3 separate regions of the Homo sapiens genome follow, and regions 2 and 3 are each linked to region 1. Evidence: promoter capture Hi-C in 16 types of primary human blood cells and fetal thymus (Javierre and others, 2016). All regions are on one chromosome and are shown on one strand. The core of a region is centred on a gene start or on the middle of the fragment in contact, and the rest is flanking DNA. Distances in the headings are between cores, read along the strand shown.

Region 1 (3,180 bases), core at 266-2,765:
CAGGCTCTCATCCTTGAGGCAACACCCCCCATCCTGGGTTAGCTGAGAGGCGGCTTCGTCCAGGAAGAACACCGGGTGCTGGACCAGCTCAGCTGGCAACATGCTCTGGGAATGTGAGCAAATCACCTGAGGTCTCTGGACCTCGGTCCCCTGGGTATAAAACCACCGGCTTGGACAAGCTGGTCCTGCAGATGCTCAACTTCCAGGAATCCAGCAGAAACCGACATGGAGAGACTTGGGTTGTCAGGGACCTCTGGGCTGGGGTCACTCAATCCCCAGCTACCCTCCTCAGTCACATCTGGCCCATCCTCCAGACACAGCTGATGTCCCTCCCATGCCTTCCTCCTCTGGGAAGCCTCTGTGACTCAACCACCTGTACTTCTTTTTCCCCGTTTCCCCCCTGGAGGAGAGAAGCAGCACCGGTATGTGTTAAGGAAGAACAAACAGACCAGCCAGACGATCAGGGTTCAAACCCCAGCTCTGCCACTTGCTGCTGAGTGGGCAAGTCCCTTCTCCCCTTTTTCCTAAGGGTGTGAGCTCATTGCATCCCTTGCCGAAGCTGCAAACCCATCCACTCTTTCTAGGATGTTCTCACAACCCCACTTTCCCCCCTGCCCTCTGGAAAGGTGGATCAAGTGGAGAAACAGTAAGCTACCTGCGAGGCTCTGCTGAAGCAACAGGCCACTAAGCTTTTATGCCTGGCGATGGAGGCCGATGAAAGAGGCCGGATCTGAACCCGGGGGCCCGCATGGCCCGTGAGCCGGGCAGGGAGGAGGGTGGCCCCGGCCCGTCTTGAACTGTTTGGAGGCATCTCAGGCCTTGCCCACCTCTGGGAGGCAGCCCAGCCTCGGGGTCTGCCCTGCAGATTCCATCGGCTCAAACCATGATTCCTCTCATTAACAGCAAGTTACTGAGCCTCCCTGTCCCTCAGCTGCTCTAGCGTAAGCAGGGGCTGTGGCTCTGAAACGCGCGGATGCGAGGCGTGTAGAAAAACGCCCGGGACGTCACATGCCGAGCAGCAACCGCCAGCCGCGATCGCCAGCATCGCCGTGCACCGGGGCCCAGCACGGGGCTGAGGGCAGGGGCGGCCCGTGCGCACCGGCTCCAGCCCCCCGCGGCTCCCGGAGGAAGTTTGTGGCCCCCGCGCGGCGCTCTCGCCCGCGCCCCACGTTCCCGGAGTCCCCGCCGCTCCACTCGACTCCGCAGCCGCTTCCCGACTGCAGTCTCAACCCGGTCTCGGGGGGCGGCGGCGCGCGCCGGGGGTCTCCGCGCGCCCGCGGGCAGCCCGGGTCCCGGCCGAGGGGGGCAGCGGGCCGGGGCGGCGCGGGGGCGGGCCTGGCGGGCGGCGCAGAGGGCCGCGTGGGGCCGAACCATGCACTCACCTCCGCGCGATCCGGTAGAGCAACACGCCGGCCGCGGCGCACGCCGTGACCCCCAGGCCGCCGGCCAGGCCGGCCGTGGGGCAGCGGGCCAGCAGCGCGCTCACTCCCTCCATGGCTCTCCGCGTGGAAGGACGGCAGGCCGGCAGGGGGGTAGGCGGGTAGGCGGGTAGGCGGGTAGGCGGGCAGGCGGGCAGGCGGGCAGGCGGGCAGGAGGCGGTGACGCCGGGGGCGCGGGCCGCAGGCGGGACGCGGGGCGGCGACGCGCGCCTCCTCGCGCCGTGACCTTCGCCGCTTTGTAGCGGGCGCGGGCCCGCCCCCTGACTCGGCGCGCTCCCGTCGCGCAGCCAATCGGGACGAGGGGTGAGCCCGGGTGGGCGGGGCGGCGGCGGAAGCGACAGAGCCGGCCGGGGAGCGCCCCCGCGCGGCCGGAGGTGGAAGGCGGCGCGGGGAGGGCGGGGCACGGAGCCCTGTAGGAAAGCCCCGCCTTCTGCCTCCCGCGCCAGCCGCCAGGCCCGGAGGTCTGGCTGCAGACAGTCCACCGAGCTTCTGCTAAGGGGAGCATCTCCAGAGTACGCAACTGCTTGTAATTAGTCTTTTTCCCCCTCGCTAATCCTGTCTAGTCAAACCCAGCCTATGCGCCCAGTGCTGTTTAGCAGCTCCTTGAGCCGCTCTAATGGTTGAAAAACTAGCTTTTTAGAAACACGATCATCCACGGATAGGGACATGGTTGAATAAATCATAGGACAGCCATAGTTCGGAACATAATGCAACCATTAGAAAGAATGCCAGATCCAGGCAGGGCGCGGTGGCTCACGCCTGTAATCCCAGCACTTTGAGAGGCCGAGGCGGGCGGATCACGAGGTCAGGAGATCGAGACCATCCTGGCTAACACGGTGAAACCCCCTCTCTACTAAAAATACAAAAAATTAGCCGGGCGTGGTGGCGGGCGCCTGTAGTCCCAGCTACTCGGGAGGCTGAGGCAGGAGAATGGCGTGAACCCGGGAGGCGAAGCTTGCAGTGAGCCGAGATCGCGCCACTGCACTCCAGCCTGGGCGACAAAAGCGAGACTCCTTCTCAAAAAAGAAAGGAAAGGCAAGGAAAGAGAGAGAGAGAGAAAGAAGGAAGGAAGGAAGAAAGGAAAGAAGGAAGGAAAGAAGGAAAGAAAGAAAGGAAGAAAAGAAAAGAAAGCCAGATCTGGAGTTATTGGCATAGATGGATGATACATTGTTTTTAAAAAGCAACATGCAGGCAGGGCGCGGTGGCTCACACCTGTAATTCCAGCACTTTGGGAGGCCGAGGCGGGCGGATCACCTGAGGTCAGAAGTTCAAGACCAGCCTGGGCAACATGGTGAAACCCCATCTCTACTGAAAATACAAAAATTAGCCGGGCGTGGTGGTGCACACCTGTAATCCCAGCTACTCGGGAAGCTGAGGCACAAGAATCGCTTGAACCTGGGAGGCGGAGGTTGCAACGAGTCAAGATTGTGCCGCTGCATTCCAGCCTGGTGACAGGAGACTCCTTCTGAAAAAACAAAAACGACAACAAAAAAGCAACATGCAGGCCGGGCACATGGTGGCTCACGCCTGTAATTCCAGCATTTTGGGAGGCCGAGGCAGGCGGATCACAAGGTCAGGAGCTGGAGACCATCCTGACCAACATGGTGAAACCTGGTCTCCACTAAAAATACAAAAATTAGCTGGGTGTGGTGGTGGGCGCCTGTAGTCCCAGCTACATGGGAGGCTAAGGCAGGAGAATTGCTTGAACCCAGGAGGCGGAGGTTGCAGCGAGCTGAGGTTG
Region 2 (3,180 bases), core at 373-2,872, 450 kb before region 1:
TCTCACAAAAAAATTTAAAAAGCACAAGAATTCTAGGTGATCTATGACAGGGACCAAAAAGTGCACATAATTTAAAAGTTCCTAAAGCTACCAGTCTGGTTATACCAGCCTTTTTCACGGACTGTATAATCATACATTTTCATTTTGTTAAAATATGAAACTCTGCCTTACCTAATTTCCTAAATTAGATTAAAAGATCACCGCCTTGCCTGTTTTAACCCTGAAATATAAGCTTGAAGTTTCAATAATATAAGTGTATTATTTTGTAATCAAATCAATGTCACCTACCATATCTGACACAAGTTTTCAACTACAGAGTAACAATACAAAGGCAAAAGCTTTGGAAATGTCTCATGAGAACTGCTTACCTAACCTCAAAAATTTTTAATTGAATTAAAAAGAAAAACTTCAAAGATATTTTTCCCAAAATAACTATTTGTCTGGCTCCCACTTTGGGAGGCTGAAGTGGGAGGATCGCTTGAGGTCAGGAGTTTGAGACCATCCTGGGAAACATGGCAAGACCCCCGTCTCTACAAAAAAAAAAAAGATTTTTTAAATTAAAAACAAACGAATATTATTTGTTCTAGGTTCTGCTGAGAGTAAAATTAACAGTTATTGAACCAGCCCTTTGTGTTCTGGACAACTAATTTGTTGAAGATAATTTTACATTGATCCTGTATTAGTGAATTTAATTTTTTTCATTTATTTTAATATTCTGTTGACCTTGAAAAAAGTTTATTCTATTTCTTCCACAAAGGTTACATGTGTTCCTCATATGGTCACAAAAAAAAGTTACACCTTCCTCAAGGACTGATGAAAGTGAAGAGACACATTTTAGATTATACAATATCTTCACTGGTCTGTAATGCCTCACTGGTTTGAAAAGAATTTTTTGGTGAAAACTCAAGTATGCAAAAGCCTCTAAACCAAGGACTATTAACAGATCATCAAAAAAAAAAAAAAAAAGTAATTTATAGGAGTAAAGGACTACTAAAAAACTACCTCGGCCGGGCGCGGTGGCTCACACCTGTAATCCCAGCACTTTGGAAGGCCGAGGCGGGCGGATCACGAGGTCAGGAGATTGAGACCATCCTGGGCTAACACGGTGAAACCCCGTCTCTACTAAAAACACAAAAAATTAGCCGGGCGTGGTGGCGGGCGCCTGTAGTCCCAGCTACTCGGGAGGCTGAGGCAGGAGAATGGCGTGAACCCGGGAAGCGGAGCTTTGCAGTGAGCTGAGATCGCGCCACTGCACTCTAGCCTGGGCAACAGAGCGAGGCTCCGTCTCAAAAAAAATAAAATAAAATAAATAAAAAATAAAAAAAAATAAAAAAACTATCTCTGGCCGGTCACGGTGGCTCACGCCTGTAATCCCAGCACTTTGGGAGGCCGAGGCGGGCAGATCACAAGGTCAGGAAATCGAGACCATCCTGGCTAACACAGTGAAACCCCGTCTCTACTAAAAACACAAAAAAATACAAAAAACTAGCCGGGAGTGGTGGCGGGCGCTTGTAGTCCCAGCTACTCCGGAGTCTGAGGCAGGAGAATGGCGTGAACCCGGGAGGCAGAGCTTGCAGTGAGCTGAGATAGCGCCACTGCACTCCAGCCTGGGCGACAGAGCGAGACTCCGCCTCAAAAAAAAAAAAAAAAAAAAAAAAACAGTATCTCTGCCTTAAGAGAAATTACTCACTAGAATTAACATTAATGAAAAACGGGGGAGGTAGAGAAACTTTTAAAAAACCACATAAAACAGGCCAGGCGCGGTGGCTCACGCCTGTAATCCCAGCACTTTGGGAGGCTGAGGCGGGTGCATCACGAGGTCAAGAGATGGAGACCATCCTGGCCAACATGGTGAAACCCCATCTCTACTAAAAATACAAAAAATAGCCGGGCGTGGTAGCGGGCGCCTGTAGTCCCAGCTACTCAGGGGGCTGAGGCAGGAGAATGGTGTGAACCCGGGAGGCGGAGCTTGCAGTGAGACGAGATCGCGCCACTGCACTGCAGCCTGGGCGACAGAGCAAGACTCCGTCTCAAAAAAACAAACAAACAAAAAAAAACCCACATAAAATAAAGCGATTCTAAGGAGATTTCCTACCGAATGAAAGAAACTGTGTAATATTCTCTTCACTTAAGATTACATTTCTGCTGTATTCGAAAAAAACAAAGTAACGCCGAATGGGCAGTCCTGATTTTCCAAACCAAGTATCCAAGTATCACAATCAACAAAATCATTTGCTTCCTTTCCTACCTGACCCTTAACACACCACTGCGTGTCCTATCCCAGGAGAATTTCAGTCCCTAAGTAAACACACTAAGTACTCTGTAGCTAAAACTGGAGCATGGAAGTCTTGTAGTACAATCAACTTGATGGATGACTGCTTTCCTAATACTGTAGGGAAGTTTACATGATGAACCAGTGAAGAAATGTGGAGGTAGGCTAAAGAGGGTATGGCCAGTAGGGGTCCTGAAAGGGAAGCTCCTAATTTGCAAAAAGGAAGAGAAAAGGCAGTAGAATCATAGGAAATTCCTTGTACCCTAATTGCCACTGCTTTTTGGTTGTTTTTTTTTTTACAACAACCTAATTTATTAAACAATCTTTAAAACATCAAGAAGTAGATCTGTATAACTCCTTTAAGAAATGAGAACAGGAGAGAGTTTAGAAAGTCATTTGCTTCCACTTGCTTCCCGTTCAGTCTCTGCTACAGCAAAACACAAGTTTGAAAGATTCAAGAAGTAGGAAAAGATAGAATGTAACAGAAGAATGCCAGAAGTCATTAGTGGTCTATTAAGTACCAGAATATAACTGGAATTCTCTAAACTGTGGAGAAGATACATATTTTGTTAAATATCAAAGAATCTGTCTGTAAACCACCCCTCAAGCAAAAATATATGTTTAATCAAGCTTATACAGTGCAATAACCACACATATCTGGAATTTCAAATGCTTTCTTTAAAAATATTCACCCACCATACATTCTCATTCCATCCAAAATTGTTCTTTAAATTCCTGAAGACACAGACACACACACACTTTAACTTCATGTAAATCTCGCCCTTCTTGTTCGCATACCCTGAAGAAAAGAATAAACACCTCAAGATGCTCTCTCCTCTTGTTCATACCCTAAAAGAACACTCGGAAAGAAGCAAATGGAGTTCAGAATGAAGAAAGAAGGCAACAGA
Region 3 (3,180 bases), core at 347-2,846, 300 kb after region 1:
GCCCTTAATCCCCACACTTTGGGTGGCTGAGGCAGGCAGATCACTTAAGCCCAGGAGTTCAAGAGCAGCCCGGGCAACAGAGCAAGACACAGACTCTGCACAAAAATTAAATAATAATAATAATAATTGGCCGGGCATGATGGCTCACACCTGTAATCCCAGCGCTTTGGGAGGCTGAGGCAGGTGGATCACCTGAGGTCAGAAGTTCAGGACCAGGCTGGGCTTGGTGGCTCACACCTGTAATCCCAGCACTTTGGGAGGTCGAGGCGGGCGGATCACGAGGTCAGGAGATGGAGACCATCCTGGCTAACACGATGAAACCCGTCACTACTACAAATATAAAAAATTAGCCAGGCGTGGTGGCGGGCATCTGTAAGTCCCAGCTACTTGGGAGGCTGAGGCAGGAGAATGGTGTGAACCCGGGAGGCAGAGATTGCAGTGAGCCGAGATTGCGCCACTGCACTCCAGCCCAGGTGACAGAGCGAGACTCCGTCTCACAAAAAAAAAAAAAAAAAAAAAAAAAGAAGTTCAGGACCAGCCTGGCCAACATGGCAACACTCCATCTCTACTGAAAATGCAAAAATTAGCTGGGTGTGGTGGTACGTGCCTGCGATCCCAGCTACTCGGGAGGCTGAGGCAGGAGAATCTCTTGAACCCAGGAGGCAGAGGTTGCAGTGAGCCGACATCGCACCACTGCACTCCAGCCTGGGCAACAGAGCGAGACTCCATCTCAAAAAAAAAGAAAAAAAAGGTAATAATAATTTTAAAAGAGCATATGACCCCCTCCAGCCACTCTGCAGTTTGAGAACTGTTGTTTACTTGGGAGACTGGTGAGAGCCTCTGGGACAGGCCCATGGGGTGCAGCCCACGTCAGTCATTGCTGAAAATCACAGCTGCCTCTGATGGGTTCATTTCTCCTTGGGAGAGTAGCCCTGTTTGGTGGATTATTCACTGTGTGTGTGGCATCTACCAGACACTGGCATCTCATGGGGCTGGTGCTACGGCCACGTGGCCTGGGGCCATGGTGTTGTCAGCTTTGCTAAGAGGAACTCCACCAAGCCTCACCTCTTAACATCTGGGAAGCTTCCAGGGCAGACTGGGGCACTTTGGAGCTAGAGACCCAGCTTTGATGTTTAAGGCCCTGAAAGACAGTTCCTGATGAAAAGTCTTCAGCACCCCCACCCCACCCCCCTTCGGCGTTAATCTGGAAATCTCAGCTCTTGATCCAGTTGAATAATTAGACCCTGCTGACCTAAATTTCCCAGAAGAACCCCTGGGGAGTGGGCCTTCTCTCCTCCAGGACGCTGGGCAGGTTGGCCGGATGATGGAAGGCTGGTCAGCCGGCAGTGACTGCTGCAGCATGGGGCAATGTTGAGCAATCCTGGAAGCCAGTTTATGTGTCAGAAGGGCTCAGAATCACCCTAGCATGCTGATACTATTGTTTGTTAAAAAAAGATACATAATCTTGCAACATTGTGACATAAGCTGATAGATACTATCCAAAAATTTGAAGGGTGACTCAGGACTTATACAAAGATCTGTGTACTGCAGGGGTGAGTCGGGAGGGAGGTGGCTCTGGGCTCCCAGTGGTGTCATCCCCAACCCCCTCCCCAACTCCACCCCACCCCCACACACATTTTATCACTTGCATCAGCACAATTTGCTCATGTCTTTAATCTGTCTCCGGGAAATGGTGAAGAGAAACTTGATAGATGGTGAATTAGCATCAGCTGCTTTTTCTGATGATGGTTCTGAGCCTTGAGCTCTTAGCACAGAATCCTGCTGCCCTCACAAGTGTTAAAGGCTGCCATCTTCTCTGAATCCCTTTTGCTGATTGGAGCAAATGTGCAAAGGATTTGGTAATAGACAAACCCAATGCAACCCCCAGCTCTGCTATTCATCAGCTGTGTGACCTTGAGCAAGTTACTTAACCTTTCTGAGATTTCCTGTTCTCATCTGTAGAACTGCTCTACACATTTCCCCAGAAACTGGGGAGGTGGTGCAATCATTCAACCAACATTAACTGAACACAATTAATTGTGCTAGAATGAAATCAAGGATTTTGAGAATTTTCAAGATAATAGGTTTTTTTTTTAAAGAAAAGCTTGGTATCCACAACACAGAATTGTAGCAAGATCCACCAGAACATGAAGAACACTGAAGCATATTAATAAAATCTACATCTATTATGCATCCTTAGCATAAGATGTGTACTTATCTCATGATGCAAAACAGAAGTAGAGTGTTTATATGTTAATTAAAAAAAAAAAATAGAGGCAGGGTCTTACCATGTTGCCCAGGCTGGTCTTGAACTTCTGGGCTCAAGTGATCTTCTTGCCGTGGCCTCCCGAAGTACTGGGATTATAGGCATGAGCCATCACAGCTGACTTCTCGCAGAATTTTGATCTCATAATATTCCCTAATTTAGTACATTGATTCATTTTGTAGATCATTTGGTCATAAATTACTGTAGTGCTCACACTGGATCACATCTTGTCAGACAGCGACGCCTGCTGGCAAAGCATGATATTGCACTATAGCTCTATCAGACTTTGTTAATCACGAATAAAGGAAAAGACTAAGAGCAAAGTTTTGGGGAGATTTAAATGAGACATTAGATGATAAACAGGCTTGGAAAGAGTTCCTATGACTTTGAGAAAAAAATAATAAAGAGATGATATTGGGTTTGGGACAATAACTATTGCAAAGTTCTTCAAAAACACAGTGAAGTAACAGCAGACTGTGATATTGGTGCCTATCTTAAATCTTCACCAGTTGCTTTTAACAGTATTTCAGTTTATTTCTATCCATGGGACATCTTGAATATACATTATAATATAATTAATTAATTTTAATAGTATTAATGTAGTAAAACTCCATTAAACAATCAAAGTGAAACCCCCTCCAAGTATTTATTATTTGGCCCTTCAGTATTTATTTTTATTAAAAATTTAGGAACCTAATGAATAAATATGGAACAGTGCTGTTCTGCATGCTGGAGAGTGATAAACAACATGGACCAGGCTCTGGGCCTTAGAGAATTTCCATTTCAGTGGGAGAGACCAATAGTAAACAATAAATGAGATCATTCCAGATGGTAACAGTGTTAACAAATAATCATTTTATATAAGTTTGCTCTGTGATCTTTTTTTTTAAACTTAGAGAGGGAGAAAGACCTGT

What was found. Contacts are between HindIII fragments. The CHiCAGO score rates a contact against its expected background, and 5 or more counts as called.
Region 2: a contact is called between a fragment that was not itself captured here and the fragment with the promoter of TMEM201 in region 1, in 2 of 17 cell types (naive CD4 T cells and total B cells). The highest score is 5.9, in naive CD4 T cells.
Region 3: a contact is called between a fragment that was not itself captured here and the fragment with the promoter of TMEM201 in region 1, in 3 of 17 cell types (fetal thymus, endothelial precursors and M0 macrophages). The highest score is 7.1, in fetal thymus.

What each region holds. Positions count from the first base shown.
Region 1 is chr1:9,587,246-9,590,425 of GRCh38, reverse strand. It overlaps TMEM201 (transmembrane protein 201), which reads right to left and starts at 1,515. Exons shown (of 11, transcript NM_001130924.3): 1 at 1,383-1,515. The coding sequence starts at 1,495. RefSeq lists silencers at 1,070-1,139, 1,300-1,499, 1,510-1,919. The HindIII fragment of the contact is 1,704 bases long and covers 692-2,395 here.
Region 2 is chr1:10,033,869-10,037,048 of GRCh38, reverse strand. All of the region lies in intron 1 of UBE4B (ubiquitination factor E4B), which reads right to left. Among named protein-coding and RNA genes, the nearest start is that of UBE4B, 2.5 kb to the right of the region's middle. The HindIII fragment of the contact is 2,564 bases long and covers 341-2,904 here.
Region 3 is chr1:9,288,520-9,291,699 of GRCh38, reverse strand. No RefSeq gene overlaps it. Among named protein-coding and RNA genes, the nearest start is that of SPSB1, 2.8 kb to the left of the region's middle. The HindIII fragment of the contact is 1,021 bases long and covers 1,086-2,106 here.